5 separate regions of the Homo sapiens genome follow, and regions 1, 2, 3 and 5 are each linked to region 4. The links are contacts of gene promoters, found by promoter capture Hi-C in human tissues and cell types (Jung and others, 2019). All regions are on one chromosome and are shown on one strand. The core of a region is centred on a gene start or on the middle of the fragment in contact, and the rest is flanking DNA. Distances in the headings are between cores, read along the strand shown.

Region 1 (3,933 bases), core at 1,408-3,907, 210 kb before region 4:
AGTCTATAATAATAGTTACCACTTACAGTACTTACTGTGTGCTAAGCTTTCTTTTAAGCACTTTAAGCATATTAGCTCAGTCTTCATAACAACCAATGAAAGGTAAGACTGTTAGCCCCATTTTACAGATGGGGAAACTAAGGCACTGAGAAGGATAATTTTCCCGAGGTCTCACACACAGCGCAAGGTAAGTGCCAGAACCAGGAATGAAACCAGGTGATCTGGTTCTGAGGAATGATATTATAGATTTCTGCATGTGGTAGAGACAGCACATGTATATGTTTTATGTGAACACCATTTAGTCCTTAATTTTTCTTTACACCAATCCTAATAAAGTAAACGTTTGAATGGGAATATTAGCTATTTTTGAAGATAGATACAGGACAATTTATTGTGGAGCATATACCCATTCTGGCCTGTAGGGATGATAATTGCTAGCATGCATCAGGAAGCAAGCTTGTGAACAATCCAGTTTTTCTAGTACTTGCTTCATACTAGGGAGAAAGTCATCAGTTACTTTGGCATAGAATTTTAGGTTCTTCATCTAATAGAATTTGATTGTGACCATTAATTTTTGTTTATCTTACGACTTCATCAGTAGATGTTCAGATTTTTCTCATTTTGTTGGCAGGGAGGAAATGAGGAAATATATCTACGTAAATAGAGAGAAACTTCTAAATTAAAACATCCTGTTGTGCTACCTGCTCTTTCGGTGTCAACAAACTGAGTTTTCCTTTAAATGCTGGTACCTTAGAGAATGAACTAAAATTTCCTTGTAGAGATACTTTTAAGTTCCTTGTTTCTACATTTTTCTAGGGAAAGATGACAATTCACTAGTTAAGGGGCAAGAAATTATGGTTACATAATAGCAACCTTTAAGCTTTAGAATCCTTTTGATCTCTATGTGAATATGATCTTAGCAGTCATCTGTATTGCATGATGGAGAAACTAACGGTTGGAGCTGGATTCTGAGGGAATTTTTCTAAGGGGAATACTTGAGGAAACAGACTAAAAGTGCTTTCTGTCTCATGATATGTGTGCTGAAGGCCAATCATCTTACTGCTTTCTCAACTAAAAGATTTTCTAATAGAGGTGTGGTTATATGTATCTGATACTTGTAATGAGATGTAAATGATCAGTGGCCTCAAGTCATTCCTAGCAGATTGTAGGTTAGTTAACTTTTTTTTTTTTTTTAAATTCTGGCCAGTTCTTTATTATGTAAGTTTTTCCCGTACTGGTTAGTTTATTTTATTGTTTTCCCTAAAAGAACCAACAGGAGGTTATTTCTGAATGGCCTTGACCAGGACAAGAAGATTGAAGGCTACAATAAAGTAGATATGAGTCCTGTCTATTATTATTATTTGCCCTCAGCTAAGAGCTTTCCTTTAAAATTTGTTTGACATTTTGGTAAGTCTTTGGCATGTTTTTATGCTGTTTTTAACTCCTTGATTTTGTTTTTATTTTTAAAGCTAGATAACATTAGCTTAATAGGCCAGTTTTAAAATTTCACTGTAACAACCTTGTATAGTTCTTTTAAAAGTTGACAATTCTCTCTTTTCCTTAAGTGAGCATTGGAGTTCATAATTGATCTTTAGGAGATAGGGTTACATAAAGGAAAGAGCATTAATTTTAAAATTAATGTTGGTTTAGATCCCAGATCTGCCATATATAGCTGTGTGACCCTGAATGAGTTAACTCTTTGCATTTATAAAACGGGACAATGTCACCTGCCTCATAGGATACTTAGGATCAAATGCGTTTCTAGGAATCCCTGAGTGCTTTGCAGGCCATAAATGATGGATGGATATTTTTGTTATTTACTAAACGAGTTAGCTGGTTTGGGTTTCTGTATAGTGAACTTTTTGTATAGCGAACTGATTGGACTTCTGAATGGAGGAGATGGACAGAAAGTAATCCAAAGGCTTGTTGAAAGTCAGTTTGAATCTATAAATACAATGATTGGTAGCTGAAAAATATTAGTCAAAATGTATAGTGTTGCTCCTGATGAGAGCTGGCTGGCTTTTTTCAAAAAGTAGTCTAAGACAATAAAAACAGTCTGTATTTTATAGGTCAGATGTGTGCTACCTTCCTCTGTCCACGTAGGAAATAATTGCTTTTTCACTTTTTAAGAATGCATCAGTTGATCAAGCAGTCACTCAGTGTGCTAGGCCTTGTACTCCACATTGGGTGTCCAAAGATACAAGTCTGGATTCCTACTTTTTTTTTTTTTTTTTTTTTTTTTTGTGAGATGGAGTCTCACTCTGTCACCCAGGCTGGAGTGCAGTGGCACGATCTTGGCTCACTGCAACCTCTGAAGCCCGGGTTCAAGCAATTCTCCTGCCTCAGCCTCCTGAGTAGCTGGGATTACAGGCGCCTGCCACTGCGCCCAGCTAATTTTTGTATTTTTAGTAGAGACAGGGTTTCGCCATCTTGGCCAGGCTGGTCTTGAACTCCTGACCTTGCGATCCACCTGCCTCGGCCTCCCAAAGTGCTGGGATTACAGGCGTGAGCCACCACGCCTGGCTGGATTCCTACTTTAAGCTCACAATCCGGTGTGGGAGCCAGCAGAGACACTTGCATTGCAGTAAACTGTGATAAGGGCCATTTTAGAAATAAGCATAGGGAAATTGTTATGTGCCTTTCTTTTAAAAGTCTTTAAAGAAAGCAGAGTACGTGTAAAATAAATGAGGTACATAGTAAGTTTCCCTTCACTGGCTGACCATTGGTTTTTTAAGTTTTGTGTGGAATGTACTGTGGTTGCCATTTATTTGAGTGCTTACTGTTTTATATCATAAACAGGTTTACTCCTTACAGGAACCCTAGTAAGTAGATTTGCCTATGTTTTTTTTTTTCTTCACAGAGTCTTGCTCTGTCGCCTAGGCTGGAGTGCAGTGGCGTGATCTCAGCTCACTGCAGCCTCTGCCTTCAGGCTGCCTCAGCCTCCCAATTAGCTGGGATTACAGGCGCCTGCCACTATACCCGGCTAATTTTTTTATATATTTAGTAGAGACGGGGTTTCACCATGTTGGCCAGGCTGGTCTTGAACTCCTGACCTCAAGTGATCACCCTCCTCGGCCTCCCAGAGTGCTGGGATTACAGGCGTGAGCCACCACGCCCAGCCCAGATTTGCCTGTATTATGGATGAGAAAACAAATTCACAGAGGTCACATAGCCTGTGGACTTGGTGTGCGGTACTGGTAAATCAGACTGATAGGCTTCATTATGTCAGTGGGCCCCAAACTGTAGAAATTATTCATAAGGTCAACCAATTGGGCTGTCTTTATGGATCAGAATTAACATAGTGTCTTTTGGATTGATTACTTAAGCCAAGAAGTCAATTTATTGTCATATCTACCATTAAGTCACATGTGTAACCTTGCGCCTGTCACTTAACACCCTCAGTAAGTTTAATCATGGCTAATTGGACATAATTAGCAATGATATGCAACAGCTGATGTGAAAGAGGGAAGGGATTTTGAAATAATAGAAATGCAGTTTCTCTCCAAATTCAGTGTTCACTGGACTTAGTGCTAATGACTTTGTATTACAGATATGCTGTGTTTTGTTTCCTAACAAAGAACCTGCAAATGTTTGAATGGAATTAAATTTATTACAGGACTCTAAATTTTATATGTAGAATGGCACACAGACAGTTTTATAGTGGGTGTTTTTTAGTGAGTAGTTTTCTCTGAGAGCCAGGAGTGTTTAACTTTTTCTGGGTAACACCCACTAACCACCTGGTCCCACTGACTTTCTCAGTCCCTTCTGCAGTAGCTTGGCATCTGATTTTTCTTCAGCAGAGAGACTCCAGAACTAAAACTTCTGCTGTACAGTGCTGTGGATGCTCTATCTGGAATGGTACATCTGTGAATGCTGTTCAGAATATGTGATCAGTTCCTTACCCCATTGAAACATTCGAGCCTAGATTTTTCA
Region 2 (3,755 bases), core at 107-2,606, 150 kb before region 4:
TCCTCTGAAAAGCTCTCTCTGGCCTCCCCCTCTCCCTCTCAGCTAGCTAGGTGGCTCCTTTCTGGCCTCAGAGCCCCCTGTGCTGCCTCCTACCATGGCGCTTATCATGTTGTATTGTGCTTGCCTATTACTGACTGGTGTCTTCCTTGAGACCGGGACCTCTATGACGGCAGGAAGAGGTATGTCTCAGTCATCAGCCCAGGTCCTAGAGCAAAGTCTGTCACATAATTGGTAGATTTTGTGGAATCAGATAAGTTAAAAAGGAGGCAAAGAGAAAACAAAGAATGCTGGCAGACAAGTCAAGCCAGAAATAAAGCACTAAATACATACCATGAAGTCCCTGTTAAGGGTTTGCTATTAGTGCAGTGTTTGGCTTTCTAGCCGCACACGCAGAGGGGAAACATGATCAGTTATACAAATGACAATATCCATGAGATAAAAGCCAATAACTGCTCAGAGACCAGAAAGGAATTGCACCTGGGGAACCTCTTGGATTGGTCACAGTGCAATATACTGAACCATGTCCACAAACCATATCCTTTTAGGCTTGTCATAGCTGCTTGGGCTTGTGTCTTATTCTTCTAATTAGCGTTAGCGCTTTGAAGGTAAGTGGGGTCTGTATCTCTTTCTCATTTTGGTATCCCCCACTGAACCGGGCACAACACCTTAAACAGTGTACAATAAATATTACTGTGTACATAGATACTGTGAGGCACATGTAGGCAAATATCAATCAATCAATCTTAGTAATTGACTCCCTGAAAACCTGCTAAATAAAAAAGCAGATTTTCCTTTCTCAGCTTCCCCTACATGCCCATCGGGAGTTTTTTAAGTGTAGCCAAAGGGATCCCCTCAGAAGACAGACAAGGCAATGGCCCGCAGCCAATCAAGAAGGACAGGGAGTTGCCGTGGAGACCACCTGCTGGGAATGGAGCTCACCTGTTGATGCCTTCTACGGCTGACGTCACATTATCATCAATCTGCAGCACAGTCTTATAGTCAACATAGGCCATAGGGTACTTCTCCAGAGCCTCATAAGCAGATGCTCGCCGCAGCAGGGGCTTAATGCTGAAGGGAACCAAGGCCAGTGCTCTAGAATAGGAGGCAAAAATGTCAACTGGCTGGCTGCTGAGCCACCAGGGTTTCCCTACAGTTTCTTCCAGGCAGGGTTATCTGGAGCACTCAGCGTACAGGAAGTAATTTCTGGCCGAGAGACATGGCTAAAAACGCCAAACCTCAGAACAGGGATTTTTCAACGTAGACTGAAGTGAGGAGGAGAAAGAAGGCAGAGAAACATGAATTTTGTTAAATGTGTGTGCACATGCATCAATTTTCATAGTTTCAGTTCCCCCAAAATCAAGAACAAAAGCCTCATGGCTTTCATGCTACTATGTTTTTTTACAGTTGTGGTCTAGTGGGAATAACAAACAAGCTTTGGAGTCAGATGGGGTGGTGTCTGAATTCCACCTCTGCTGCTAACTATGTGACCCAGGTAAATCACTTTACTGCCCCAACCCTCAGCAACCAAGTTCTGGCCTGGGACACATGGTAACCGTACCCCACAGATTGGTTGTGAACACTCAAAGAGGGAAATCTGGCACAAGGCATGGCACAAATTAATTCAGCACAGGCTCTGTGAGTATGCTCACACCCCTCCTGCTCTCCTGGCTATCACCAGGGCAGGAATCTAAAGCAATGTCAGAGGACATCAGATCTGAGAACACATTTCAGGTAAATGTGAGAGTTTAATGATGATAAAAGAATATTAGACTGGCTTGAAGAAAAAGAGATATGAAACATTGTTCAGTGTCCTCTAAAACTGGTCATTCATGAATACCATTTTTTTCCTTTCTCCTTCTGAGACAATCTATTAACCTCTATTCCTCCTTCTTTCCTTCGCTCCCTTCCCCTCACATACTCCCATCCCAGAAAAGCACCTGGGCAAGCCAGTTACTGGTCTGCCACTCCACCTTATTCCCAGGTTTCAAATTGCACAAAGACTTTACGGCCTGCTTCTAACTGCCCATCCCACTCCTTTTTCGGCAGCAGAGCCAAGACTCCAAAGATGCAAGTCACGGGCCATAAGGACCAAATAAAGACTCCCATTCTCAGTGACCTGGTGAAACTCAGTGACACTTTCTTAATATCTGTCCCAGATGTAATTGATGGGATCCTTCCAAAGAAGAAACAAGCCAGATTAACCCAGCCTCCTCTTCTGAGACCCTCAGGCATCCCAAAATTACCCTTGGCCACTTACGAAGTGCAATCTTTGATGCAGTCTCTGCAGTTTCCATCCTTCAAGTGACATGCTGCTCGGTTGGAGTAGAGAACACTTTCTTCTTCTGGGTCTGAAGAACCTGCCCAGATAGAGTGGGGAAGATGATCAGTTTGGAAAATGGGTGCCTCAGGGCATTAGGATACATTTCAAACTCAGAGCTCTTTGGGCCTTGTGTTAAGGCAGTAGAGATAACTATAACCTGTTCAGGCTTGTTGGTCTGCTGGGCTGGCGTGTTTGTCATTCTTATGTGACAGAAGGACACTGCGCTTTTTGCCATTCAAAGGGAACCAAGTATTTCCTCATTCACTCATTCCAGCACTGAACTTGATAACAGACAAAAGATAAACAAGAAATAGCTAGCTTCTGCCTCAAAGAAATCCATGCTGTAACTACTTGGGTTTGGGTGGATAAATGGATGGATAGGTGTGTATTTTATTACAAAAAGCATTTAAATCCAAGAAAGAAAGAAAAAAAAAAAAAGAAAAGAAAGGGAGGGAGGGAGGGAACAAGATGATAAACGTATGATAAATGGATTGACCAAAAGTTGTAGGGGCACAAAACACCCATGAAAGACATGAGACTAGTTTTACCTGGTCAAGCCAGGGAGGACTTTGTCAGGGAAATGATAATTGAGCTGGGTGTGATGGGAGTACAGAGAACTTAATCAGGAAAAAGTCTTAAGCTACCCCATGGGGAGAATTATTAGACATTCTTCTAAGGCAGTCCTTACCCTCAGGAATCGCAGAGGCTCAAGTCCTTCACTGTGGCCACCATGATCTTTATTTACGTATTTTTTTTTGAGACAGAGTCCTGCTCTGTTGCCCAGCCTGGAGTGCAGTGGAGCGATCTCCGCTCACTGCAACTCCACCTCCTGGGTTCAAGCAATTCTCCTGCCTCAGCCTCAGCCTCCTGAGTAGCTGGGATTACAGGCACTCGCCACCACGCCTGGTAGAGACAGGGTTTCACTATGTTGGCCAAGCTGGTCTTGAACTCCTGACCTCAGGCAATCCGCCTGCCTCGGCCTCCCAAAGTACTGGGATTACAGACGTGAGCCACCGTGCCCAACCAACAATGATCTTTATTTTTAAAGATAATTTTCAACCACTTCATACCCACTAGTGTCGGCCATTATTTTAAAAAGAATTGAAAACAGGGTCTCTTTTTGAAAATTTTGAAACATACAGAAGACCATTATCTCAGAATCCACCACTAGATTTAGCACGTTATATTAGTTCCCAACTTTTTTAATTTTTAGAGACAGCGTCTCCCTCTGTTGCCCAGGCTGAAGTGTAGTAGCACAATCATAGCTCACTGCAGCCTCAAACTCTTGGGCTCAAGTGATCTTCCCAGCTCAGCCTACCAAGCAGATAGGACTACAGGTGTGTACCCCCAAGCCCAGTTAATTTTTAAAGTTTTTGTAGAGACAGAGTCCCACTGTGTTGCCCAGGTTGGTCTTGAATGCCTAGCCTCAAGTGAT
Region 3 (4,239 bases), core at 631-3,130, 230 kb before region 4:
TGTGGAAAGGAAAAGTCAAACTGCAGTGCAACCTCAGCAGAGGCCTTGGCTAATGCCATGGGGAATATAGAGCTGGGATGGCAAGAGGACAGGACCTTGGAATGTCCACCTCGAACAGTCATAGGGACTCAGCTGAGAGCTGCCAGCAGCCAATGCTCCCAGCAGCTGGGGGAATAAATGCCCCATCCTGGGGATGGGGGTCTGGGTGGCACACCACAGTATGCACTGCAGCGCCCACTACCTATTCCCCATGCATTGCTCCTCAAATAAGGGAGATGGCTGGGAGGGAGACAACATCAGTGATGGGGTAGTGGAGGAGGAATTCAGAGAGTAAAAATGGTTTTGTCTGTCTTCCATCCACCTGTGACCTAGGCTATGCATGCCATCCAGCTGCAATAACCAATACATTTGGGTCATTCATGTTGATATAATGTATGGATTATTTTATGGGTTGCAAGCCATTAACAAATAAATAAAATGCAATATTCCACTGGCTGATTGGAGATGCATTCTTTGACATTCTCAAATAAGAAATGGAAGAATTGGCCAGGCACAGTGGCTCACGCCTGTAATCCTAACCCTTTGGGAGTCCAAGGCTGGGGGATCACTTGAGGTCAGGTGTTTGAAACCAGCCTGGCCAACATGATGAAACCCCATGTCTACTAAAAATACAAAAAAAAAAAAGCCAGGCGTGGTGGTGGGCGCCTGTAATCCCAGCTACTTGGGAGGCTGAGGCAGGAGAATCACTTGAACCCAGGAGTCGGAGGTTGCAGTGAGCCGAGATCATGCCACTACACTCCAGCCTGGGCGATAGAGTGAGATTCCATCTGAAAAATAAAAATAAAAATAAAATAAAAAGGAGATGGTGCCTTCTGCCCTGGGGTTAAAAAAATTAAAAAATTAAATTAAAAAGAGATGGATCTATTTGTATAATATGGAAAGACCTCTAAGACATATTTTTGCATGAAGAAATAAGATTCAGTACCCTAATAAACTATATAAAAATTATATCTATTTCTAGAGTTTTACATACACTATAAAAGGATGGAATTTTACCGACTTGCCCTATGGAAGGATTCTACATCCCCACCCCACGTAAGTCAGGCATAGCCATATGATTTGCTTTGGCCAAGGGAATTTGAGTGGAAGTGACATGTGAGACATCCAAGCAGAAGCTTTAAGAGGCTCCCCCATTCTCTCTTTTCCTTATTCCATGAGATCAGCATGTTCCAGCTGCTTCTTCCAGCTGTGTCCAGAGATACAGCTGAATTCAACCCATCACAAACATGCAATTAAGATATAAATTTTTAGGCTGGGCGCAGTGGCTCACGCCTGTAATCCCAGCACTCTGGGAGGCTGAGGCAGATGGATTGCTTGAGCTGGGGAGTTCGAGACCAGCCTGAGCAACATGGTAAAACCCTGTCTCCACAAAAACCACAAAAAATTAGCTGGGCCTTGTGGCACACATCTGTAGTCCCAGCTACTTGGGAGGCTGAGATGAGAGGATCACCTGAGCCCAGGAGGTCGAGGCTACGGTGAGCCATGATCATGCCACTGCACTACAGCCTGGGAGACAGAGTGAGACCCTGTCTCAACAAAAAAACAAACAAACAAAAGACATAAACTTTTATTAATATAAGACACTGAGACTTTGAGGATGTTGTTATTGTAGGTTATTGTAGCATAACCTAACCTACCATCACTGATAATACATGTTGCTATATATAACTGATATGTGGTTACTTCTGGGGAGGAGAAATGGCATTGGGAGGTGGCGATCATAGGGAATTTTAGTTTTTAATCTTTAATATTTTAGTTTTCTTACAATAAAAATATATCCACACATTACTATGTAATAAATATACATTATTTTAAAATGAATACAGCAGGTATTTCCCTACTTAAAATTAAATGCCAAAAAATATCTTTTTTTTTTAGACCGAGTCTCGCTCTGTTGCCCAGGCTGGAGTGCAATGGCATAATCTCGGCTCACTGCAACCTCCGCCTCCCGGGTTCAAGCCATTCTCCTGCCTCAGCCTCCTGACTAGCTGGGATTACAGGCGCTGGCCACCATGCCCAGCTAATTTTTGTATTTTTAGTAGAGACGGGGTTTCACCATGTTGGACAGGCTGATCTCAAACTCCTGACCTCAGATGATCCACCCACCTCGGCCTCCCAAAGCGCTGGGATTACAGACATGAGCCACTGAGGAGCTCTATTTCTGATTAAACCTATAGACCTCTCTGAGTTAGGATCTCAGCCCTTGTTCCATTAAAATGAAAAGCCAAAATTGGTTGCATGTATAGCAAAGACCTTGAAATATCATAGACTGCCTTGCAATTTCAACTTCTCATTCAAGCCAAACAACAGCCCTCTTTATCTTTGAAGTTTACTTTTGAGCAAAATCAAAGTGGCTAGACTCCCTGATCCACTGCCTAGTCCCCAGCTTCATGTGTGTCAGATAGTTACAGTGACCAGAGCAAGAGTAGCAGCAGCACCTCTGGCCTCTCAATCACATCTATGGTGACTTTGAAACAAAAGCCTCCTGGACTTCTGCAACTCCTGCTCTTCTCATGAATTTGTAACCACCTAATTCCCTATAGTCAATCCCTTTCTGCCTACAATACCTAGAGTGGTTTCTGTTCCTATCTCCTGCACAGAGGCATGACTTAGTACAGGTTGGAAGATAATATTCAGAAAAGAGACACAAAGACAAAAAGATGAAAAATTGGAAAGAAAAAGAAAAAAAAACAGTAAAATTAGAAAGCCATTTCAAGAGGTCAAACACCTGAAAAATTAGAGTTCTGGAAAGTGAAGATATAGAAAATGGGGAGAGGAAGGAAGAAAATATTCAAAGAAATAATTCATGAAAATTATTCCAGAACTGAAGAAAGTATATTTTCAGATTGGGAGAGATCATTGAGGAACAATTAGATGTTATGTGCCTCCTGAGATGACGCCATAGAAAATACAAGTCCTGTCTATAAAATATGATTGCCAAAAACTGAACTGAAATCTAATCAGGCCTCTAGATTGAACTACCAGTTTACAGGACATTGGAGGGATGGTGTCACATTTTAAAACAACATGAAGGGCCGTGCGCGGTGGCTCACGTCTGTAATCCTAGCACTTTGGGAGGCCAAGGCAGGCAGATTATCTGACCTCGGGAGTTCGAGACCAGCCTGGGCAATGTGGCAAAACCCCTTCTCTACTAAAAGTACAAAAATTAGCCGGGTGTGGTGGCACATGCCTGTAGTCCCATCTACCCAGGAGGCTGAGGCAGGAGAATCACTTGAGCCCAGGAGGCGGAGGTTACAGTAAGCTGAGATCGCTGCACTGCACTCCAGCCTGGGCGACAGAGCAAGACTCCATCTCAAAAAAAAAAAAAAAAAGAAAGAAAGAAAGAAAGAAATGAAATCTGAGCAATAACTTCCATGAGCTTGAAGGTAGATTCAGCTCCATGACCTCCAGAAAGGAATGCAGCCCAGCTGACAACTTAATTTTTGCTTTGTGAGACTCTAAGTGGCGGATCCCAGCAGACACACACTATACTCAGTCTTCTTACCTACAGAATTGTGAGATAAGAAGTGGGTTCTGTTTAAGCTACTAAATTTGTAGTAATTTGTTACAGCAGCAATAGAGAACAATCATTAGCAACCAGAATATAGAAAACTTGGCAAACAAACAAGAAACAAAAACTTTGTTAATATTAGGGAAAACAAGAAGTTCTATAATAAAGGGAAAGCCATCATGGAATACAGCTGGGCAAGGCTGACAATAGTGTATTTATGGTCACAAAACTGTAAACACTGAATACAAATTTAACTAAAATTATGATATAATCATTTTGACATGATGCATGGGGGCCTGGAGCAGTGGCTCACGCCTATAATCCCAGCACTTTAGGAGGCTGGGCAGGTGGATCACTTGAGCCCAGTAGTTCAAGACCAGCCTGGGCAACATGGTGAAACCCCGTTACTACAAAAATTAGCTGGACACAGTGGTGCACACGTGTAGTCCCAGTTACAGGGGCACTGAGGTGGGAGGATTGATTGAGACCAGGAGGTTGAGGCTGCATGAGCTGAGATCATGCCACACTGCACTTCAGCATAGGTGACAGAGACCCTGTCTCAAAAACAAAAACAAAAAAAAAAAAAAAGGAAAAGAAAGAAAAAAAGGATGCATAGGGAGGGACAGAACATGACATTTACCTGTGGGATTTGGAGGATTTGGAGAAGA
Region 4 (4,177 bases), core at 39-2,538:
AGTGACACCTCCTCACCACTGGCAATCTCATTTGCACTGTGGGTTCAGTAATGCCTAGACTAGGGATTAAGTGTGTGTAAAGCACCTGGGCTTGGCATTAAATGGATTTGGGGTTCCACCCTTAGCTCTATCACTTGTGTGACCTCAGGCCAGTCTCCTTCCCACTCTGGGCTTTAGCTCTTTTACCTCTAGAATGGGGATAATGTTGCTTTGGATGCATCATTATTGTGGTATATGTCAAAGCCCTGGGAAAACAGTAGATGCTCAATAAATGTTAATCCTGTGTACTTCCCTGTGGTCAGACCTGAGTCTACCACTTACTAGCTGCTGTCCTTGAGTGCATTCGTCGCCCTCTCTGGGCTTGTTTCCCTGTCTGTGGAACCGGGTAGCATCATACTTTCCAGGAGAGGCTCAGAGAATTAAATGATGCAAGGTGTTTATCGGCAGCATGGTCCCTGGCACATAATCAATGCACAATAAACGTGTGATGTAGCTCCGCTCCCACCTCCACTTGGATCTCCACCTGCATTTGGCATCAAAAAATGAAATTTCTAATCCAGTTCCATCACCCATTAGAAGCATAATATTGGGCAAATCCCTTCATCCATCAGGAGCTCACTTTCCTGCTCTATGAAACAGGATAATTAATTCAACAAACATTTTCTGACAAGAACCTGAATATCAGTAAGAAAGACCAAGTGACTTGTTCAAAATCACCCAGCTAGTCCATGGCACAGCTAAGGTTGGAGACCAGGTTTTTTTATTTCATTCTCTCTCCACACACTTATTTTGAGCACCTCCTATCTGCTAGTCACTCCTCTGGGCTCCATGCACACCTCACTCGGTTTAATCCCTACACCAACCCTGCCAGGGAGGTTTTCTAATCCCATTTTACAGATGAGCAAACTGTACCAGCCAGGGTCTCCAAAGCGCGGCCACCCCACACTGCTTCCTCCTTGGCGGGGGGTGGGGGGTCTCTTAGAGGGGGTAAGAGCACCAGGAGCCCCAGGCAGCCCCGCCTCCCACTCTGGCTGCCCGGGACCGTCCCGGAGCCACGTCCCTCCCCAAAGGAGGCCCCTTACCTGTGGTGGCACCTCCCGGGCGCCTCGCGTGTCTGTCCCAAAGCCACCGAGGCTGGGAGCCGCTGGCTATACTCGGTCTCGCCTCTGCCCCGCCGGCCCCGCCGAGCCTCCTGCTGCAGGCGGCCCCGCTGCCCTCTCCTTCCTTCTTCCTTGCCTAGTCCCCCGCGGCTGAAGGCCGCATCGATCGCTGCCGGAGGAGGGAGTGAGGCCGCTGGCGGCCGGAGGCGGCGGTTTCTATTCCTGACTCGGCTGGGGGGTGGTGGTGTCTGGAGACTGGGCCTACCTGCAGGGGCATCCTCCGGAGTTACGGGCCGGGAAGGAGGGGTCATTTAGGGCGTGAGGATTCCCCGTAGAGAGGGATTTCAGCAGAAGCTTCTCTGGCAAAGGAACAACAGTAATCATGATTTACTTAATTGAGTGTTTAGTATGTGCCAGGGTACTTCAGCTGCTGCAAGTGATTGATCTCAGTTATTCCTGGCACACACACTTGACAGGGCCAGGATCTTATGTCGCCCATTTTAGGGGTGAGCTCCAGTCATTTTCTCAGACCGTGGGCATCTGAGTTAGGGAGCTGTAGAAGGTGGCCTCATCTCCCTTGGAGCCCCAGGTTCTTCCTAGGTGAGTTGTGAAGCTTGAAACGATCATTTTACCCCTGAGGCGCAGTGTCCTTACCTGCCCACGGGTTCCTGATTCCCACCTGCCAAGTGGGTTGTGAGGGCAGAGAACATGTGCCAAAGAGCTTTGTAGAGGTTGTGAAATCCCCACACATGTACCTGTTGTGTGGCTGCTGTGTGCCTGGTTGGGGAGAGGCTCCTGGAGACTAGGGCCTGGATATGAGCCTTTGCACATATTGTTATTAATAATAATGATAATTACCAACGTTTATTGAGTACTTACCTTGGGTCAAGCACAGACCTCAATCTCACTCAAACTGCAAATTTATCTGTGGGGTAAGTGCTACTATTATTCCTATCTCACAGATAAGAACTGCTTTGAGAGGTGTGGTGACTTGCCGGAGGTCCCATGGCTGACTTCTGAGTCCTCTAGGCCAGCACAGTCCAACACCTATAATGTGAGCCACATATATAATTTTATTTTATTTTATTTTTGATTTTTTGAGATAGAGTCTCACTCACTCTGTTGCAGGCTGGAGTGCAGTGGCACAATCTTGGCTCACTGCAACCTCCGCCTCCTGGGTTCAAGCGATTCTCCTGCCTCAGCCTCCTGAGTAGCTGGGATTACAGGCATGCACCACCATGCCCAGCTAATTTTTGTATTTTTAGTACAGAAGGGGTTTCACCATGTTGGCCAGGCTGGTCTTGAACTCCTGGCCTCAAATGATCCACCTGCCTTGGCCTCACAAAATGCTGAGATTACAGGCATGAGCCACCGCGTCCGGCCCACATATGTCCTTTTACATTTCTGATTGCAACATTTTAAAGAAGTAAAAAACAGGCGAAATTACAGTTACCCCTTAAACAGTGGGGGTTAGGGAAACCACTCCTCCATGCCTAGAAAATTAGAATATAACTTTTGACTCCCCTGAAACTTAACTAGTAATAACTTACTGTTCGCCAGAAACCTTACCAATAATATAAACAGTCGATTGACACATAAATAGTATCTACATATATCTTAGGCATTCACGACATATCTAACTTATTCTTAAGGCTTTTGATATTTCTAGTCTACATGGTTCATCTGTAAGTTTTTTCAAATTGTCACAAATCTCCAAAAATTTTCCAATGTATTTATTGGAAAAAAATCTGCATGTAAGTGGACACTAGCAGTTCAAACTCGTGTTGTTTCAGGATCAACTGTATTTTTAGTGATATATTTTATTAAATCTAAAATATTATGATTTCAACATTGGAATCAGTAAAGAAATTATTGAGATATTTTACATTTTCTTTTTTTTGTACTAAGTCTCTAAAATCCAGTACTAATTTTTCTTATTGCTACATAACAAATTACCACAATTTAGTAGCTTAAAACAATACAAATTTATGATCTCATGGTTTCTGTAGGTCAGAAGTCTGGGCATGGCCTGGCTGGACCCTCAGGGTCTCACCAGGTTGAAGCCAAGGTGTTGGCCAGGGTTGAGGTTCTCATGTGAGCTTCAGAGTTTTCTTCCAAGCTCACAGATTGTTGGCAGAATTCATTTCCTTGTGGTTATAGGACTGAGGTCTCTCTTTTCCTGTTAGCTGTCTCCGAGGGATCAATCTCAGATTCTAGAAGCTGCCCCATAGGCAGTTCATAGCATGAATGCTTGCTTTCTTTCAGGGACATCAGAGTGCTGAATTCCTCTCCTGTAACCAGCCAGAGAAAAATCTCTGGCTTTAAAACTCTCACCTGATTAGTCCAGGCCCACCCAGGGCACTCTCCCTTCTGCCATATAATATACATTCACGGGTTCCACCTACACTTAAAGAGGAGGAGATTATACAGGGATGAGGATCATTGAGGAGGGGTCATCTGAATTCTGCCTCCCATATATAAATCTAGTGTACTAATTTATTTTATTTTTTATTTTTTGAGAGAGATTTTTTGAGATTTATCTATAGCATATCTCAGTTTGGACTAGTCACATTTTATGTGCTCGGTAGCCACACATGGCTCGTGGCTGCCATATTAGACAGCACAGCCCTAGGCTGTGCCACTTTAGTTTTTCCCTCGAAAGAAGAAGTTAGAGCAGGAAGCTGCTTAGTGAGCATCTTGCCCAATTCCCTCATTTGACCAACAGGGAAACTGAGGCAGATTTGCCGAGAAGCAGGTCTTCTGTTTCCTGGCCTAAGAGTTTGTCTGCAGCCTTTGCTACCCCTCAGGACTCAGGAGTTTTCCCTGGAGCTGCAGAGACGGTTTCCAAAATTGAGAGAAAAGACAGACCTATTTCCCAAAGGCAGAAGAGAATGAAACCAGGATCTGGTTTCATCCCCAGATTACACAGTGAGAGGTAAATGAAGTTTTGGTGGAATCTGTGAGCCACAAGAGTGGGAAGGTGGGCCTTATGGGTGGGAAGGACGGGGCATCCCTGTCCTTCATGTACCATGGATGGTCTGTCCCCCAAATTCTCCCTCAGTCCCTGACCAGGTTTA
Region 5 (3,876 bases), core at 800-3,299, 160 kb before region 4:
ATAATGCTGCTGTGAAAATGGTTGTGCAGGCTGGGCGTGATGGCTTACGCCTGTAATCCCAGCACTTTGGGAGGCTGAGGCAGGTGGATCATGAGGTCAGGAGTTCGAAACCAGCCTGACCAACATGGTGAAACCCTGTCTCTACTAAAAATACAAAAATTAGCCGGACGTGGTGGCATGTGCTTGTAATCCCAGCTACTTGGTAGGCTGAGACAAGAGAATTGATTGAACCCAGGAGGGGGAGGTTGCAGTGAGCCGAGATAACACCACTGCACTATAGCCTGGGTGACAGAGCAAGACTCTGTCTCAGGAAAAAAAAAAAAAAGAAAGAAAATGTTTGTACAAATAGCTCTTTGAAACCCTGCTTTCAATTCTTTTGGGTATATACCCAGAGGTAAAATTGATGGATGATATGGTAATTCTGTTTAACTGTTTGAGAAAGCCCTATACTGTTTTTCTGTAGTGGCTACATCATTTTACATTCCTACCAACAGTGCACAGTCTTCTAATTTCTTTACATTCTTGTCAACGCTTGTTATTTTCTGTTTTGGTGTTGTTTTGTTTTGTTTTGTTTTTGGATAGCAGCTATTTGAACTCTGCTTTTTTTGTTTTGTTTTGTTTTGTTTTGCAGCCAACATTGGTACTCAGACCACAGGACCCAGTGGGGTAGGATGCTGTACACCAGGCCGGCCGCTCCTGCCGTGCAAATGTTCCTCAGCAGCACATAGCACCTATCGGGTAAGGCCAGCCCAGCTGCCTGCTCTTAGCCTGGGCTCCTGGCCGCCTGGCTCAGAACCTTAGCTAAGGTGTTGGGCCTTGGCTTTTTTTCTTTTCTTGGCTTGTAAAGTTTCGTTTATTAATGTGTACAATCAATAAGAGATCACCCTTACTGCGAGAAGGGGAAAGAGGGCCAGCATTACGTTTTATTTACAATTTGTTTTGCTTCGGTTATTACCAAAATTAATTTGGATATCCTTAGTATTTGTGATGAACACCAAGGAAAGGTATTCTAAGAATATGCTGATTATTGAAGGGATGTACTTAATCTTCAAAACAGAAAATACTTACTGTAATCAAAGACTGTGTATTTATCTCCCTCCCCTAAAAAAGGCCTAAAATTCAGCATTATCATATCCTGTGTAGAATTTCAATGTGTCTCTTTTGAACTATTTCCTGCAAAATGAATGAGAACAGTCTTTAAACAGCAAAAATGTCTATTTTTTTTTTTGGACAGGGTCTTTTTTTTGACAGCACCCAGGTTAGAGTGCAGTGGTGTGATCATAGCTCACTGCAGCCTTGAACTCCTAGGCTCAAGTGATCCTCCCACCTCAGCCTCCAAGTACAGGCATGTGACACCATGCCTGGTTAATTTTGTGTATTTTTTTGTAGTGACAGGGGTCTCATTATGTTGCCAAGGCTGATCTCAAACTCCTGGCCTCAAGCGATCCTCCCACTTTGGCCTTCCAAAGTTCTAGGATTATAGGTGTGAGCCACCACACCTGGCCAAAATGTTTTAAAATTACCAAGATGTGAAAGGGTGAGAGGTGTGCCGGGGACATGTCCATAAATCTACTTGATAAAAAGTGCTTTATTTGGCACAAAGTTATTGGTAACACAGGGCTTTCCTTTATCAACGTTCATCAGGGACCTTTATAAGTTCGTAGCACTACAGGAAACGTCTAAGCTAGAGGCATGACTTTGTCTTCTAATCCACTTTGCCCTTGTTGGGGACTCTCCACCCCACCTGATCATCCAGACCTTGCCCTCTGTTCCCCTCCTCCAGTGCCTCCCTGGCCTTCTGCTCACTTGCCAGGGTAAGTATTTTGAGGACATGCCTGTCCATGGTGATTAAGGGATGTGTCCCCGGCACCATGCAGGTCCAGGAGCCGGCTGTGCACATCCCAGGACAGGAGCCCCTGACCGCGTCCATGCTGGCTGCGGCGCCCCTGCATGAGCAAAAGCAGATGATTGGTGAGTGGCTGGTTCTCCTACTGTGGAGCAAGAAGAGGAGGGCTGCGAGCTGGCTAGCCTGCTGGGAAACACCTCACCTGGTGGTCCAACGTGAGGTCAAATTCCAGCTTTGTCACCGACCCCCCTACTGGGTGACCGTGGCCAAGCTGGCTCTATTCTCTAGGCACCTGTTATCTTGTCTTAAAACGCTGGTCAGACTGGATGGTCCTGAGCTTTCTTCCACTGCTGCTGTCCTGTGACTTTGAGGTTGGGAGACAGTCCAGATGTGGGGAGATCAGGGGACAAAGGGAGGAGTAGGGGTATGGTCTTGGGTTTCTGCTGAGAAATGGCTTGTAGGTGGGGGGTTAAAGTTCCTCACACCTCTCCTGAACGGGAGGAAGCTGCTGTTCACCAGTTTCCAGTGCTCAATGCGGGCAGGTGGGGCATCTGTGCGTTTGGTAAATACATGATGTTTCCCATAGATTCTGGATTCCTTGTGCAATTCATCTTCACCCCTAGTGTCCATGGCAGGCCCTGATAAAAATGCCACTAAGTGAACACAAGCTTGTTCCTGGTTGGCAGGTTCTTTACTGCATGGCCCCCGAGACCTCCAGACCCTTTACTGAAGGCCCCCATTACCACTGCCCCATTGTTTCCTCAGCTTACTTAGGGTTTTGCCACATTACCCCTTCCCCTCACCCCGAAATTTTTTTTTTTTTCCCTGAGATGGAGTCTTGCTCTGCTGCCCCGGCTGGAGTGCAGTGGCACGATTTTGGCTCACTGCAACCTCCACCTCCCGGGTTCAAGTGATTCTCCTGCCTCAGCCTTCTGAGTAGCTGGGCTTACAGGCACATGCCACCATGACCAGCTAAGTTTTGTATTTTTATTAGAGATGGGGTTTCACCATGTTGGCCAGGCTGGTTTCAAACTCCTGATCTCAGGTGATCCACCCACCTCAGCCTCCCAAAGTACTGTGATTACAGGTGTGAGCCACCATGCCTGGCCTCACCCAGAAACATTTTGAATGAGCTTAATGGAAGTAGAAGTCTTTGTTAGTAGTTCTCTGTAAACATTTTCACTTTCTTCATGGGACGATCCTTTCCGCCCCCACTTAAGGCACCCAGTCCTGGCTGGGCCCTGGACACATTGCTGAGATGGGCTGACCACCAATACCAGGCCCAGTCATTAAAAGTACCTGATGTTAGAAGATCAAGTGTTAAATGTCATAGCCTAGAAGGAGCAGTTCTGGGAGAAGAACCCAGATGTCCTCAGTGCTCCACTCCATACGAGCCCTGGGATGCTGGGGTGTGAGCTAGGCCGTGCACAAGCCATTAGAAGGTGTTCCACACAGGGGAGCGTCTCTACCCCCTTATCCATGATGTCCACACCCAGCTGGCTGGCAAGATCACGGGCATGCTGCTGGAGATTGACAACTCAGAGCTGTTGCTCATGCTGGAGTCTCCAGAATCCCTCCATGCCAAGGTAAGCAGGAGCCTGGGCAGCAGGGAGCCCGAGGGGGCAGGAGGAGAGCTAACGACAAGGGCTCTCCTAGTGGAGCCAGTGGATAGCTGTTTGGCCAGATAAAGTGTTTCTTCTTGCTAATACCTGAAGGCCTGCTGAATCTTAAGAGTGGAAGGGGCCTTAGGTAAGGGTTTGCTACTTCAGCCCTTCCGTAGACTAATTCTGTGTTGTTCTGTAGGTAGGTCTTTTGGTACAAGGAAGTGTGTTGTGACTCAGTGTAAGGGTTAAGATTTTTCCAGCTGTCCAGCAATGTACCTCTGTGTCAAAGGTGACAGACAGGGCCATGGGATCTTGCAAGCAGTGGTGGATGGGAGGGTTCCACAGAAACCCTGTGGATGGAGGAGGATCCTGTATCCAGGATGGTGAGCGAGGGGGAGATCAAGGCTCTTCTGTGACCTGCTAAGA

Evidence for each region. Contacts are between HindIII fragments. The study calls those that stand out against the background at their distance.
Region 1: a fragment that was not itself captured here is called in contact with the fragment with the promoter of KCNS1 in region 4 in 3 of the 25 tissues and cell types used here (dorsolateral prefrontal cortex, lymphoblastoid cells and spleen).
Region 2: a contact is called between a fragment that was not itself captured here and the fragment with the promoter of KCNS1 in region 4, in 4 of the 25 tissues and cell types used here (H1 embryonic stem cells, dorsolateral prefrontal cortex, lymphoblastoid cells and 1 more).
Region 3: a fragment that was not itself captured here is called in contact with the fragment with the promoter of KCNS1 in region 4 in 1 of the 25 tissues and cell types used here (spleen).
Region 5: a fragment that was not itself captured here is called in contact with the fragment with the promoter of KCNS1 in region 4 in 1 of the 25 tissues and cell types used here (spleen).

Annotation. Positions count from the first base shown.
Region 1 is chr20:44,888,284-44,892,216 of GRCh38, forward strand. All of the region lies in intron 1 of YWHAB (tyrosine 3-monooxygenase/tryptophan 5-monooxygenase activation protein beta), which reads left to right. Among named protein-coding and RNA genes, the nearest start is that of YWHAB, 4.5 kb to the left of the region's middle. The HindIII fragment of the contact is 5,673 bases long and covers 1-3,933 here.
Region 2 is chr20:44,954,129-44,957,883 of GRCh38, forward strand. It overlaps TOMM34 (translocase of outer mitochondrial membrane 34), which reads right to left. Exons shown (of 7, transcript NM_006809.5): 2 at 2,258-2,357; 3 at 940-1,092. It overlaps LOC124904912 (a long non-coding RNA gene), which reads left to right and starts at 1,088. Exons shown (of 2, transcript XR_007067599.1): 1 at 1,088-1,492. The HindIII fragment of the contact is 7,243 bases long and covers 1-3,755 here.
Region 3 is chr20:44,868,427-44,872,665 of GRCh38, forward strand. No RefSeq gene overlaps it. Among named protein-coding and RNA genes, the nearest start is that of YWHAB, 15 kb to the right of the region's middle. The HindIII fragment of the contact is 3,967 bases long and covers 1-3,864 here.
Region 4 is chr20:45,099,839-45,104,015 of GRCh38, forward strand. It overlaps KCNS1 (potassium voltage-gated channel modifier subfamily S member 1), which reads right to left and starts at 1,289. Exons shown (of 4, transcript NM_001322799.2): 1 at 1,083-1,289. The HindIII fragment of the contact is 6,202 bases long and covers 1-2,963 here.
Region 5 is chr20:44,934,760-44,938,635 of GRCh38, forward strand. It overlaps PABPC1L (poly(A) binding protein cytoplasmic 1 like), which reads left to right. Exons shown (of 15, transcript NM_001372179.1): 11 at 632-738; 12 at 1,878-1,971; 13 at 3,302-3,432. Among named protein-coding and RNA genes, the nearest start is that of TOMM34, 24 kb to the right of the region's middle. The HindIII fragment of the contact is 3,369 bases long and covers 366-3,734 here.